Linked DNA regions of Homo sapiens: region 1 is linked to region 2. Evidence: promoter capture Hi-C in 16 types of primary human blood cells and fetal thymus (Javierre and others, 2016). All regions are on one chromosome and are shown on one strand. The core of a region is centred on a gene start or on the middle of the fragment in contact, and the rest is flanking DNA. Distances in the headings are between cores, read along the strand shown. Region 1 overlaps TIGD3 (tigger transposable element derived 3). Region 2 holds the start of KCNK7 (potassium two pore domain channel subfamily K member 7).

What was found. Contacts are between HindIII fragments. The CHiCAGO score rates a contact against its expected background, and 5 or more counts as called.
Region 1: a fragment that was not itself captured here is called in contact with the fragment with the promoter of KCNK7 in region 2 in 9 of 17 cell types (neutrophils, activated CD4 T cells, total CD8 T cells and 6 more); the score reaches 8.4 in neutrophils.

What each region holds. Positions count from the first base shown.
Region 1 is chr11:65,356,669-65,362,922 of GRCh38, forward strand. It overlaps TIGD3 (tigger transposable element derived 3), which reads left to right. Exons shown (of 2, transcript NM_145719.3): 2 at 1-945. The coding sequence ends at 556. Among named protein-coding and RNA genes, the nearest start is that of TIGD3, 5.0 kb to the left of the region's middle. The HindIII fragment of the contact is 4,312 bases long and covers 1-3,474 here.
Region 2 is chr11:65,593,007-65,600,089 of GRCh38, forward strand. It overlaps KCNK7 (potassium two pore domain channel subfamily K member 7), which reads right to left and starts at 2,794. Exons shown (of 3, transcript NM_033347.2): 1 at 2,448-2,794; 2 at 470-868; 3 at 1-204. The coding sequence starts at 2,766. MAP3K11 (mitogen-activated protein kinase kinase kinase 11) reads right to left here. Exons shown (of 10, transcript NM_002419.4): 9 at 6,388-6,762; 10 at 4,751-5,622. The coding sequence ends at 5,285. The HindIII fragment of the contact is 15,508 bases long and covers 1-7,083 here.

The sequences.
Region 1 (6,254 bases), core at 69-2,568, 240 kb before region 2:
GGCCGCCTCTAGCACCACGCCTCCCCTGCCCAGCTCAGTGGTCCGGGCCTTTAAGGCCCATTACCGACACCGGCTGTTGGGCAAACTGGCTGCCATCCAAAGCGAGAGGGATGGCACCTCGCTGGCCGAGGCCGGGGCAGGCATCACCGTGCTGGACGCCCTGCACGTGGCGTCTGCCGCCTGGGCCAAGGTGCCTCCTCAGCTCATTTTCAGCAGCTTCATTCAAGAAGGGCTGGCTCCCGGCAAAACGCCCCCGTCCTCGCACAAAACCTCTGAGATGCCACCAGTCCCCGGCGGGCTGAGCCTGGAGGAGTTTTCCCGCTTTGTGGACCTGGAGGGTGAGGAGCCAAGGTCTGGAGTATGTAAGGAGGAGATAGGCACTGAAGACGAGAAGGGGGACAGAGAGGGTGCCTTTGAGCCCCTGCCCACCAAAGCTGATGCCCTCCGGGCCCTGGGCACCTTGAGGAGGTGGTTTGAATGCAACAGCACTTCTCCTGAGCTATTCGAAAAATTCTACGACTGTGAGGAGGAGGTGGAGCGGCTTTGCTGCCTATGAAGGCGCCTTCACTGCTTGCCAGAGCCCCTTCCTCTCTTGTTTCCCATGGAAACGGCCTCTTCAGAAGGCAGATCGGGCTGTCTCTTTCCTGTGGAAATAGAACTGTCGTAAAGGTGTAGAAGGGAGAGAAGTTGGGACACCAAGTCTGAGCTTGGAGTGGCAGTCGTCCAAACCCCAGGAAGAGAGCTCTAAAGATGGGGCTTCGGGGGTAGGAATCCAGGATGCTTAGTTTCTAGACCCTGCTTGAAAGTTCTAGAGCCTTTGAAAGGGAGTTAGTCTAGAGGCAGCCACTTAGAAAGGTGGAATTTGGGCTTTTTGGACAGACTGCTTCCTTGAACTTTGTGTTAAAAACAGTTCTGCTTCTGAAAATAAAGTTTTTAATCAGAAAAGAGGCCAGGGTGTTATTTTCATGGGAGAAGGGTAAACATTTTCCATTCAGATTTGGAAAATTAATTGCTGATGGTCACTGCGGTGCAGCTGTCTGTCCATGACCAGTAGGGATCCTCCTTTTCCAGATATTCAGCAGCAAGGACTCTCAGGGTGTGGGCACTGCTTGTGGGCTACCCTCCTGAGAGGGAAGCTCCAGGACAGACAGATCCCAGCTACTGCCCCAGATAAGCTGCAGCTCCAATAGTTTCGCTCTCAGATTGTGTGTGTTTGGGGTTGGGCAGGCTACGGACATGTCAGGGAAACAGAAAGGAGCCGGAATTGGAATGGAATAGTCATTCATTCTTTCTTTTTTTTTTTTCATTTGCTTATTTCACAACATCACTTCAGCAAGACCTCCTATGTGAACAAGGTTGCAAAGATGATGTCTCTTCTGGACAGAACCTTGCAGCCAATGACAGTGGAGTGTGATTAAGGCTGTGATAACGGCTGTGCAAAGTGCCTGGCCCCATAGAGCTAGGGAGACTCCAGGGGGAGGTGAGCTTTGAGCTGCAGTTTGAAGGGCGTCCCAGGCCAAGGGACAGCGTGTGCAGAGTCTGATTGGAGTGAAGGAGCACAGTGTGCTGGGGGCGGGGGCAGGCAGTTCTGCCAGAGCATAGCATACTTGCGGAGGTAGGGGCAGAGTACAAGGAGAGACCTGGAGAGTAGGAAGGGCCTTTAGCCAACCAGGCTTAGGGGTAGGACACCATCAGAGGGTTTTAGGTAGGCAGGAACAAGTCATTCTTGGGGTTCTAGAATAACGGAGTCTGTGTAGGGTGTGTCAAAGATGTGAAACCTAGAGGCAGAGAGCCTCTGACTGATCCAGGTGAGAGAAGGTGAAGCGTGAGCCAGATCCTGGGAGTAGGATGTAAAGAAAATGGTTTACCAGCAGGGCGCGGTGGCTCACGCCTGTAATCCCAGCACTTTGGGAGGCCGAGGTGGGTGGATGACCTGAGGTCAAGAGTTTATAAGACCTGCCTGGCCAACATGGTGAAACCCCATTTCTACTAAAAATATAAAAACTAGCCGGGCGTGGTGGCACATGCCTGTAATTCCAGCTTCTCAGGAGGCTGAGGCAGGAGAATCGCTTGAACCCGGGAGGTGGAGGTTGCAGTGAGCCAGGATGGTGCCACTGCACTCCAGCTTGGGCAACAAGAGTGAAACTCACTCAAAAAAAAAAAAAAAAGAAAAGAAAAGAAAATGGTTTTACCTGGAAAGGATATGGGCTTTGGACGCAGATAGACTCTAGCTGGTAAAAATACAAGCTGCAGGCCGGGCACAGTGGCTCATGCCTGTAATCCCAGCACTTTGGGAGGCCGAGGCTGGTGGATCACTTTAGGTCAGGAGTTCAAGAGCAGCCTGGCCAACATGATGAAACTCTGTCTCTACTAAAAATACAAAAATTAACCAGGCGTGGTGGCACACACCTGTAATCCCAGCTACTTGGAAGACTGAGGCAGTAGAATCGCTTGAACCCACGAGGCGGAGGTTGCAGTGAGCGGAGATCGCACCACTGCACTCCAGCCTGGGTGACAGAATGAGACTCCGTCTCAAAAATAAAAAAATAAAATAAAAATACTGTCTGGGCACGGTGGCTCACGCCTGTAATCCCAGCATTTTGAGAGGCCGAGGCGGGTGGATCACCTGAGGTCAGGAGTTCAAGACCAGCCTGGCCAACATAGTGAAACCCCGTCTCTATCAAAAATACAAAAACTAGCCAGGTGTGGTGGCGAGCGCCTGTAGTCCCAGCTACTCAGGAGGCTAAGGCAGGAGAATCGCTTGAACTGGGAGGTGGAGGTTGCACTGAGCCAAGATAGCGCCACTGCACTCCAGCCTGGGCGACAGAGCGAGACTCCCTCTTGAAAAAGGAATAAATAAAATAAAAATACGGGCTCCAGGCCAAAATCCTAAGGGTGACCTTTCAGGCTTCACCATTGGCAGTCACAAGACTTTTGCCTGGCAGTCCTCATGGAGGGAAGCTGCTCTCTCACCCCAGCTTGGTGCATCGCCTGTGCATTGCAGGTTTCCGGAGAGAGTTGCAGTCAAGGACTCCAGGCCCCCAGACTGCCCTGTTCCTAAGCTCACCTGCATTCCTAGCTGGGCACCTCCATTTGGAGACCTGGGCTGAGGCAGTTTCCAACAGCCTTTACCAAGACCTCCTTACTGGGAGCAATGACTGAGATCCTTTCTCCGCTTCGACTCAATACCTCTCATTCCATCCTTTCTCCGCTTTGACGCAGTACCTCTCATTCTATCCTTTCTCCGCTTTGACTCAGTACTTCTCATTTCAGCCCTTCTCCCCTGCCTCCCTACAGCCCACTTCAGGTCAGGTCTGTAAAAAGGCAGGAGCTTTTATTCTTTTTATTCTGAAACTCCTTGACGATGAGACTGTTCCTGTCTGACCCTTGTCCCGTGCTGCTCTGTAAAATGGAACGCTGGGGAGCTGGGGCCTGTTTTTGCCCCTTGCTTGTAGGTTTTAGTGAATGAAAAGAAGCTTTTGTGTTACTTTCAGCTTGCTTCGTTGTCCTAATTGACCAACTCCACACCTGGCAGCTCGAACTAACAACTCCCTTTCAAACACTTATGAAGCCACCTGCGGGCCTATCATTTTCTAGGCTGAGATCCCAAATCATTTAGCCTTTCCTCACAGAAGTCTATTTTTTCTACCCTGAATTCATATAAATTGTTCTTTTCTGAAACCTTTCCAGTTCTGATGTATCTCATTTTATTTTATTTTATTATTTTATTTTATTTTATTATTTTTGAGATGGAGTCTCCTTCTGTCACCTAGGCTGGAGTGCAGTGGCACGATCTTGGCTCACTGCAACCTCCGCCTCTCGGGTTCAAGTGATTCTCCTGCCTTAGCCTCCTGAGTAGCTGGGATTACAGGTGTCTGCCACCATGCCCAGCTAATTTTTGTATTTTTAGTAGAGACAGGGTTTCACCATGTTGGTCAGGTTGGTCTCAAACTTCTGACCTCAGGTGACCCGCCTGCCTCGGCCTACCAAAGTGCTGGGATTACCCAGGCGTGAGCCACTGCGCCCGGCCTATTTATTGTTTGTTTGTTTTGAAATGGAGTTTTGCTTTTGTTGCCTAGGCTGGAGTGCAATGGCACGATCTTGGCTCATCACAACCTCTACCTCCTGGGTTCAAGCAATTCTCCTGCCTCAGCCTCCCGAGTAGCTGGAATTACAGGCACCCGCCACCACGCCGGGCTAATTTTGTATTTTTAGTGGAGACAGGGTTTCTCCATGTTGGTCAGACTGATCTCAAACTCCTGACCTCAGGTGATCCGCCCACCTTGGCCTTCCAAAGTGCTGGGAATTACAAGCGTTAGCTACTGCGCCCAGCCCATATCTCTTTTTATTTTATTTTATTTATTTATTTTTTGAGACGGAGTTTTGCTCTTGTTGCCCAGGCTGGAGTGCAGTGGCGCGATCTTGGCTCACTGCAACCTCTGCCCCCAAATTCCAGTGATTCTCCTGCCTCAGCCTCCAGAGTAGCTGGGATTACAGGCACGCGCCACCACGCCCAGCTAATTTTGTATTTTTAGTAGAGATGGCGTTTCTCCATGTTGGTCAGGCTGGTCTCAAACTCCTGACCTCAGGTGATCCACCCACCTCGGCCTCCCAAGTGCTGGGATTACAGGCGTGAGCCACTGCGCCTGGCCCTATATCTCTTTCTAAATGTTGAAATCAAAATTACAGGCTGGGCGTGGTGGCTCACACCTGTAATCCCAGCACTTTGGGAGGCCGAGGCGGGCAGATCACCTGAGGTCAGGAGTTCGAGACCAGCCTGACCAACATGGAGAAAACCCCGTCTCTACTGAAAATACAAAATTAGCCGGGCGTGGTGGCGCATGCCTATAATCCCAGCTACTCAGGAGGCTGAGGCAGGAGAATCACTTGAACCCGAGAGGTGGTGGTTGTGGTGAGTCGAGATCACGCCATTGCACTCCAGCCTAGGCAACAAGAGCAAAACTCCATTTAAAAAAATAAAAAAATACACAATCTCTACAGGTCTTACCAAAGCAACAGAGAGCAGATAGATTAGCTCTCTGTCCTCAGGTGTCCCACTCCTGTCAAAGTAGCAGAATATAACACAATGCTGTACAGCTGGCCTCTTCCCGGAGCTTTTTAAAAAGAGCCATAATTAATCTCTTCCTTCCTTGAATCGCTATCATATGGCAGACATTTCCCAATTGCAGGTAACTTCATCTGCTCGTGCAAGCAGTATTCCCGAATGCTTAGCTTGTGGCTCAGGCCCTGTTCTGGGACCTTAAAGTCAATGGTGAACAAGACAGAGAGGATCCCGTCTGTCAGGGCCCTTACTTTTTTTGTTGTTGTTTGTTTTTTGTCTTGTTTTGTTTTGCTGTGTTTTTTCAGACAGAGTTTTGCTCTCGTTGCCCAGGCTGGAGTGCAGTGGCGCCATCTCAGCTCACCACAACCTCCGCCTCCCGGGTTCAAGTGATTTTCCTGCCTCAGCCTCCTGAGTAGCTGGGATTGCAGGCGTGCGCCACCACGCCTGGCTAGTTTTATATTTTCAGTAGAGACAGGGTTTCTCCAATGTTGATCAGGCTGGTCTCGAACTCCCAACCTCAGGCGATCAGCCTGAGTCGGCCTTCCAAAGTGCTGGGATTACAGGCGTGAGCCACCATGCCCAGCCAAGGCCCTTACTTTTTAGAAGAGGGAGAGCAAGAGCAGACATTAAACCCATGAGCACAGTCATTTCAGACAGCGAAAGGTGTCAAGATGAAAATAAAATAATGATGTCAGAGAGAGTGACAGGGTGCGTAGTCAGGAAAATGACCTGTGAGCTGCGTTGTGAATTTCTCTGCAAAGGGAACTGTGGGTACCAATCCAGGTGGTTAGAAACAGCTTCACAGGGTTAAGAAACAGAAAGCAGTGCCTGTGGCCGCAAGTGAGGGAGGCCAAGGAGGGGAGGAGGTCAGAGAGGTGGACAGGGGCCTTTCACCAGGGAGTGTTTAGGTTGCATTCTAAGCAAAATAGGAAGTTGGTTTGCCTTTTTTTTTTTTTTTTTTTTTTTTTTTTGCAGGGTGGGTTGGGGCTGTGTGGTTCAGATAAAGGAGGAACAAGATATGTTTTTTTGTTTTGTTTTTTGTTTGAGACGAAGTCTCACTCTGTCTCCAGGGCTGGAGTGTAGCGGCGCAATCTCAGTTCACTGCAACTTCTGCCTCCTGGGTTCAAGCGATTCTCCTGCCTCAGCCTCCTGAGTAGCTGGGATTACAAGTGCCCGCCACTACGCCCAGCTA
Region 2 (7,083 bases), core at 1,544-4,043:
AGCAAGCAGGGGCTTGTCCTGAAGCTGGGGCCGCGGGCGGCAGGGTGCTCAGAGCCAGTTCATCCTGCCCTAGGATGCCACCTTGGTCCTCAGCAGTCACAGGACCACTGGGTCTGAAGAACTTCCCCATGGCACGGACCTGCGGCAGCTCAGAGAAGGTCTCCACTGCCAGCAGCATGGCCAAGAGTCCTAGAAGCAAGTAACCTGGGGAGGAGAAGGTGCTGGGGCAGCGCCTGGGTTCTGGTGATGCTCCCCGCCCACCTCCCAGCGCAGTGACTTGCCCTGGCAACTGGCACCACTCACCCCCTTCTCAACGCTGCCACCAGAGCTCTTCGACTACCCCTCCCACGCCGTGCCCTGGAGTGAGGTCCCTCCACCTGCAAGGCCCAGCCCCCCAGTGATTTATGGGAGTCCTAGTCCAGGCTCCTCTTCCCCCTTCCCCCACACGCTGTTAGGTGGCTGGACTTACCAAGAAGTGCGAGCTGGCCCAGGTGGTAAATCACGGGGTGCAGGCTGCGGCCGCGGCCGGGCAGCAAGTCCTCCAGGCCAATGGTGCTGAGCGAGCTGAAGCAGAAGTAGACGGCCCCCAGCAGGCTGCAGTCGCCCTGAAGGCCCCACAGCACCAGCGCTGGCAGCAGCACAAAGCTGCTGGCCACCAGCAGTCCCAGTGCAACTGCCTGCAGCAGCGCAGCCCTGGCCGGTGACAGCTGCCAGTGGACCGCTACCCAGGCACGTGGGCGGCTGAGCACAGGCAGCAGGCAATGGCGCAGGGTGGCCACGAGAGCTAAGGAGGCTGGCAGCCCCAGGGCTGCATAGACCATGCAGAAGGCCTTTCCGCCTGGCGATAGTGGGGCCATGTGGCCATAACCTGGAGAAGAGAGAGTCAGTGGACAGTGAGAGCTCTGAGTGCCATGTCTGCTGGGGTCCCTGCCTACCCCAATACTGCCTTCCGCAGAAGGCTGCCCTCTGGTGGCCTTGAACTGGCCAGGCCCAGGTTCTAGCTGGCTCTGCTCCTCTTCGTCAGGGGATCCCTTACCCTCTCTAGGCCATTCTTTTCTTTTTTGGAAAATGAAAGGATGAAAGAAGACAGTTCCTCAGGCCTTTTGTAGCTGGGACAATTCTGAGAACTGCGCTGCCCTTAACAGATACTCCCGATTCCACAGCTGGTGGAATATCATCCACTCTTTCCCCAAATGTGTGTCATGTCCTGTGTGCCAGGCTTTGTACTGGGATCTGAATCAGCCCAGGCCCTGCCCCTTCTGGTGGGGGAGTCGGGCAGGCAAATCATGAAGGGCTGCAAAGAGGCAGCATGGGCGAGAGAGGGCATGTGCCAGGCGGGGAGGGGTGGGAGTGCGGGGTGTGCTGGGAGAACAGGATCAGCTAATACAGAGCTGCAAACGCACATGCCTACCGGAGCCAGATGGGAGACAAACAGGAGTGGTGGGGACAGGGGTACACTGGAAAGTGTGAGCTGTATCCAAAGGGCAGGCCCCATTCTGCTCCAGTCAGGATGTTGCCTTGCAGGGATTCTGGCTCAGTGTGAGTGGGTTTCCTGATTTTCCAAAAGAAGTTGGAAATATGAGCTGGGCACAGTGGCTCACACCTGTAATCCCAACACTTTGGGAGGCTGAGGCAGGTGGATCACTTGAGGTCAGGAGTTTGAGAACAGCCTGGCCAACATGGCAAAACCCCGTCTCTACTAAAAACACAAAAATTAGCCGGGCATGGTGGTGCATGCCTGTAGTCCCAGCTACTCAGGAGGCTGAGGCAGGAGAATTGCTAGAACCCGGGAGGTGGAGGTTGCAGTGAGCCAAGATCGCACCACCGCACCCCAGCCTGGGTGACAGGGTCAGACACCGTTTCAAAAAAAAAAAAAGTTGGAAATACAAATTCCAATTCAAAAAATACTGAGACACTTTGTGGGGCAAAAAATACGAAAACCCAGGGCTGTGGGTCTCATTGCTGCTTTTCCCTGGGCCTGTGCCCACGCGATTTCTCTGCAGGACTCCCTCATCCCTGTCTGTGCCCTCCTGATCCACAAGCATCTCATGCCGACTTCCTCCCCTATCTTCCCTCACTCCCCCACCCGAGGCCATGGTCCTGATCTGTCCTTCCCAGGTTCATTCTATTTGCTTCCATCCAAGAATCCATCCCACTGTATTGTATCCCCTATCTGGCCACAGGCTGTGGCATCTGGGCAGCTCTCCTGGGTCTCAAAGGGTGCCTGGGGTGGGACTGGGGAGGCCACACCCTTCCTGGCAGTTGAAGTGGAGGCACCAGTTGGGGTGTGTTGGTGGGGAGCCCCAGCTGTGATGTCAGGCCTCACAGGGCCTGGGCTCCATCTGGCTCTTTGGGGCTGAAGGAAGGGCTGCATGAACCCCAAAGCCCCCAGGGAGCCATGGCCTCTTGGAGCCGCACCCCCCGACTTGGCTGCCTGGCTCTCTTACCTGTGGTGGTGAGGATGCTGGCAGCGAAGAGCAGGGCTGAGGGAAGGTCCCAGGTCCTGCCCTCTGAGCTGTTGCCCAGGGTGGAGACCCCATGGGCCTGGGTGGCCAGGGCAGTGCCCAGCAGCTCTTCCAGAGCTCCGGGTGGCAGGCAGGCCCTATGCTCTGCCTGGAAGGCTGCCAGCTCTGCCCTGAGCTCAGCCTGAAGCCTGCATGCAGGAGGCCCCTCCAGGGCCTGGAACACCACAGCCCCAAGCCCCAGGGCCAGCAAGTGGGCCACAACCAGGAGCCCGTATCGGGACCAGGGCCTTAGACCCCCCATGGCAGGCCGCTGGGGTGCTGTGGGAACTGGCGGCTCCACCTCAGGCACCTGGGAGGGGCTGGGCAGGGCGGGGCCAGGAGGAGGTGCTGTGTGGGTGGCTGGGACCCGGCTGGGATGGCTGGGGTGGCTGGGGTGTGAACAGGAGGGAGGTGAGCTGCATCACCCTTCCCAGGTCCTGGAGGCAAGACATTTGCCCATTTCACAGCAGCTGGGATGGTGGGGATGGGTGGAGGAAGGCGGCTGCGGTGAGGGGAGGAGGCGGAGGAAGCTGAAGCCTAGAGAGGACCTCACACTTATTCAAGGTCCTGCTCACTCAGGCACCCATACCACATTCATTCATTCATTCATTCATTCAAGTGCTTAGGGAAGAGGACAGGCACAGGTCCTTTCCTTCCTGGTGTTTACACAAGAAACCTCTTAGCAAAGAAACATGGCAACCTCACATTGTCATGAGTTCCATGAAGGAAACACCCTGGGTGATGGGAGAGCTCTGCGGGGAGCGGGGGGGTTATCTCACTGGGAAAGCTCTGCTAAGGAGGTGATATTTCAGCTGGGGAGTAAGAGGCCAGTGAAGGTAGGAATGAGCTTGGGGTGTGAGAGGAACAGAGGGCTGGCTGTGGCAGGGGAGAGTTGGGGGTGAAGGGGGGATAAGGACACAGGCCCTTGAGGATAAATGTGGTCCAGGGAGACCTACGCTGGGCTACTGTAGGCGTCATGGATGGAGTGATTTTGGCCTGGGTGGTGTGGTGGGAGAGGAATGGTGGCAGCTGGGAAGGATCAGGTGGGGGTGGGAGGTGGGGAGAGGACTCCAGGGTGCCCAGAGCACCCGGGCAGATGATACCCTTGCGCCCGATTGCCAGTTCTTCCTGAGAACGCTTTGTGCCTGCCCTCCTGACTCCCTGCCCCTGAACTGCAGACACAGAGTCTGGGCTGCCATGGGGCACCTGGGAGAGGGGAAGGGGGAGCCTGGGTTCCAACTCCTCTAACGTCAGAGGGGCTGAGGACAGAGGCCAAGGAAGGGACCCAGCCCTAGGGTATGGTGTGGGAGTGCCAGAGCCCCCATGGCAGTGTGAAGAGAATGGACAGAGGCCGAGGGAGGGACCCTGCCCTAGGGTATGGTGTGGGAGTGCCAGAGCCCCCATGGCAGTGTGAAGAGAACTGTCAGGGGTGCCAGATGCCATGGCAAGTCACCATACTGGGAGGTGGGTGGAACTTACTACTCTTTTTTTTGAGATGGAGTCTCGCTCTGTCGCCCAGGCTGGAGTGCAGTGGTGCAATCTCGGCTCACTCAACCTTCGCCGCCCGGGTTCAAGCTATTCTCCTGCCTCAGCCTCCCAAGTAGCTGGGGCTACAGGCACCTGCCACCACGCCTGGTTAATTTTTGTATATATATATATTTTTTTCAGTAGAGACGGGGTTTCACCATATTGGCCAGGCTGGTCTCAAAATCCTGACCTTGTGATCTGTCCGTCTCGGCCTCCCAAAGTGCTGGGATTACAGGCGTGAGCCACCATGCCCGGCCTATGGTTTTTTGTTTTTTTTTTTTTTGAGACGGAGTCTTGCTCTGTTGCCCAGGCTGGAGTGCAGTGGCGTGATTTTGGCTCACTGCAACCTCCACCTTCCAGGTTCAAGCAATTCTCCTGCCTCAGCCTCCAGAGTAGCTGGGACTACAGGCATGCACCACCACACCTGGCTAATTTTTGTATTTTTAGTAGAGATGGGGTTTCACCATGTGGCCAGGTTGAACTCCTGACCTCATGTGATCCGCCGGCCTCGGCCTCCCAAACTGCTGTGATGACAGGAGTGAGCCACTGCACCTGGCCGAGAAGAGCCTTGAATGACTGACCAAGGCTGGTGGATTTGGTCCCAGGAGAGGCATGCAGTACAAGGCATCCAACTGCCTATTGTTGGGGCATCAGGACACCAGGGTTGTATGATAGGTTGGGTCACCTGGTTACCTCCAAGAAAGGTGACAGGCTACATGTGGGGAGACAGCTTTTGAGTTTATTTGGCTTCTGGCTTCACTGGATCCCGAGGCTAAGACTCCAACCCTGGCTGGGGCAGCAGGAAGGCATCCAGAGAGCCCTGGCCCCAGATGACCCCCAGGGCAGGAGGTCCATGCTCTAAGCCCTAGGGCAGGGGCCGCAGTAGCAGGACTTGGTCAAAAGTGCTGGTGACAGCTGAGGCCGGCCCCTCTTCCCTGCACCTCCCCTCCTCCCTGCATCACCCCAGCAGGCAATTCCCTGAGACAGGCTCTGGTCCTCCCAACCAGCTGGGTACAGTGTTGGGCCCCAGTAGGGCAGGTGAGCTGGGGGGACCTACAGGTTTCAGATGTGGGGGCGCAGGTCCCCCTTCCAGTGTGAAGGCTTCCTGTGCAGTGTAGTGTTCCTGACCCCCAAAGGGGGGTGGGGTCCCTGGGGAAACTGAGGCAGCTGCAGAGGCTGACCCAGCTCCTGTTCCAGTGTATGCTGTGACTCCTCCTAAGGCAGCTGGAGCTCGGGGGAGTGGCCTGGCCCACTCAAGGCCCCGCTTCCGGCACCCACGGGGCCTGGGCACCCATGTCTTTGGTCTGTGCCCTGCAGTCCTGGGGGCCCCCCTGGAAGGGGTTGGCAGGTGGGGAGTCCCAGAAGGGGTCTGAGTCCGGGAACAAGGTCCAGGGTGCTCGGCGGGGTGCAGGCTGTGGTGATGGCAGGGGAGAAGGCCGTGGCCCAGCTGACACAAAGCTCCAGGGATCAATGCGGCTGCGAAGGGGCGAGGGCCGAGGTCGGCTGATGAGGCCCAGGGGTGGTGAACGTGGGGTGCCTGGGGTGCCAGGAGCAGAGCGTGATGTCCCCGGTGGGGGTGAGACAGTGCCTCCTGTGAGGATATAGGAGGGGCACAGGGTCAAGCAACCCCCAACTGCTGAGGTCCCCAAGACACTGTCCTGCTCTGGGCCTCAGTTTCCCCATGTGCACAGTGACCTACTTGACTCAACTTCCACCGCCCTTCCTGCTCCGTGGTGCCTCTGTTTTTTGTAATAGTTAGGAGTGAGGCCTCTGCAGCAGGCTGGCCTGGATGTGGATCCCGGCCCTGCCACTTACTAGCTGTGGGAGCTGTGGGTCCCTTAATCTCTGTGCCTTAAATTTCCTCATCTAAAAATGGGCATCCAGGAGCGCTTAGTTCTCTGGTTGTTATGACTAAATGAGACCATCTCGGGAAAGCCTTGCAAACAGTACTTGGCACAAGTAAGGAGCCAGGAGTTTGCTACGATTATGATTACATGTATGCTGTGTCGCCCAGGCTGGAGTCCAGTGTCATGATCACCGCTCACTGCAGCCTCAACCTTTCAAGGCTCACGTGATCCTCCCAGAGTGCTGGGATCACAGGCGTGCACCACTGCCTGGCCCGATTACTTCTTTTATTTCACAGCAGGCATCGCCCCCACCTGCCTGGACCACCTGATAGCTGAACTTAGAACTCTGCTCCCTACATGCGTCTTCAGTACCCCGAATGCCTGGTTCAGGGTCCAGCTGATGACTGTGGTCTCGGCCTTGCCTCCTTGCATGTCCCCACCAGCCACTCCTCCCTCCCTGGGAACCCCCGTCTCCCATATGTGAAGCAGGCCGGCTTCAGGCCACTCACCGCGGGGCTCCTCCTCACGTCGGGGGCTCTTGGCTGACCGCTGGCCCACAGGGATACCCAGGTCCAGCAACAGGGGTGCAGGAGTGGGCGGGGAGTCGGGCGTCTTGAGCGAGAAGCAGATGAGCGGGGAAGGGGGCGGCTCGGTCGGGCAGGGCGCGGGCGTTGGCGTGGGGGGTGTTGTCGGGGACTCCCCGCGCTCGCGTCCTGGGCCTCCCGGCGGCTGCAGGTCGCGGCCAAGGCCCAGCGAGGCGAGCAGGGCGGTGCCGCGCAGCAGCGCCCGCTGGATCAGCTTGGGCGTCCCAGAGCTGCTACCGCGCTCTGCGGGGACAGGCCTCTTGGGCTCCTCGGGCTCCAGGCTAGGCCGCGGGGGGTTACCTGCGGGCAGAGGCGGCACAGGTGAGGGTGTGGCTGGTGCATATTCCGGGTGAGGGCCCAAGACCTCTCCGTGGTCTTGGAACAAGGACTGAGTTCTGCCCTCTACTAGCATCTTCCCTGGTCCCACAGGTCCCATGGCCTCCCCATCACATACCCACATTCTGGCCTTTCACAAGATGGGCACTGGGAGGGGAGGGCAGTGCAGGTGGAGGAAGCGGCAGCAAAGCCCAATGGCAGCCAGCGACCCCAGACCCGAAAGATGGATGGGCAGTCCCAGTGGAGGCAGGCTGGGGCCAGGTCACAGTGGGCCTCTGTGGCCTG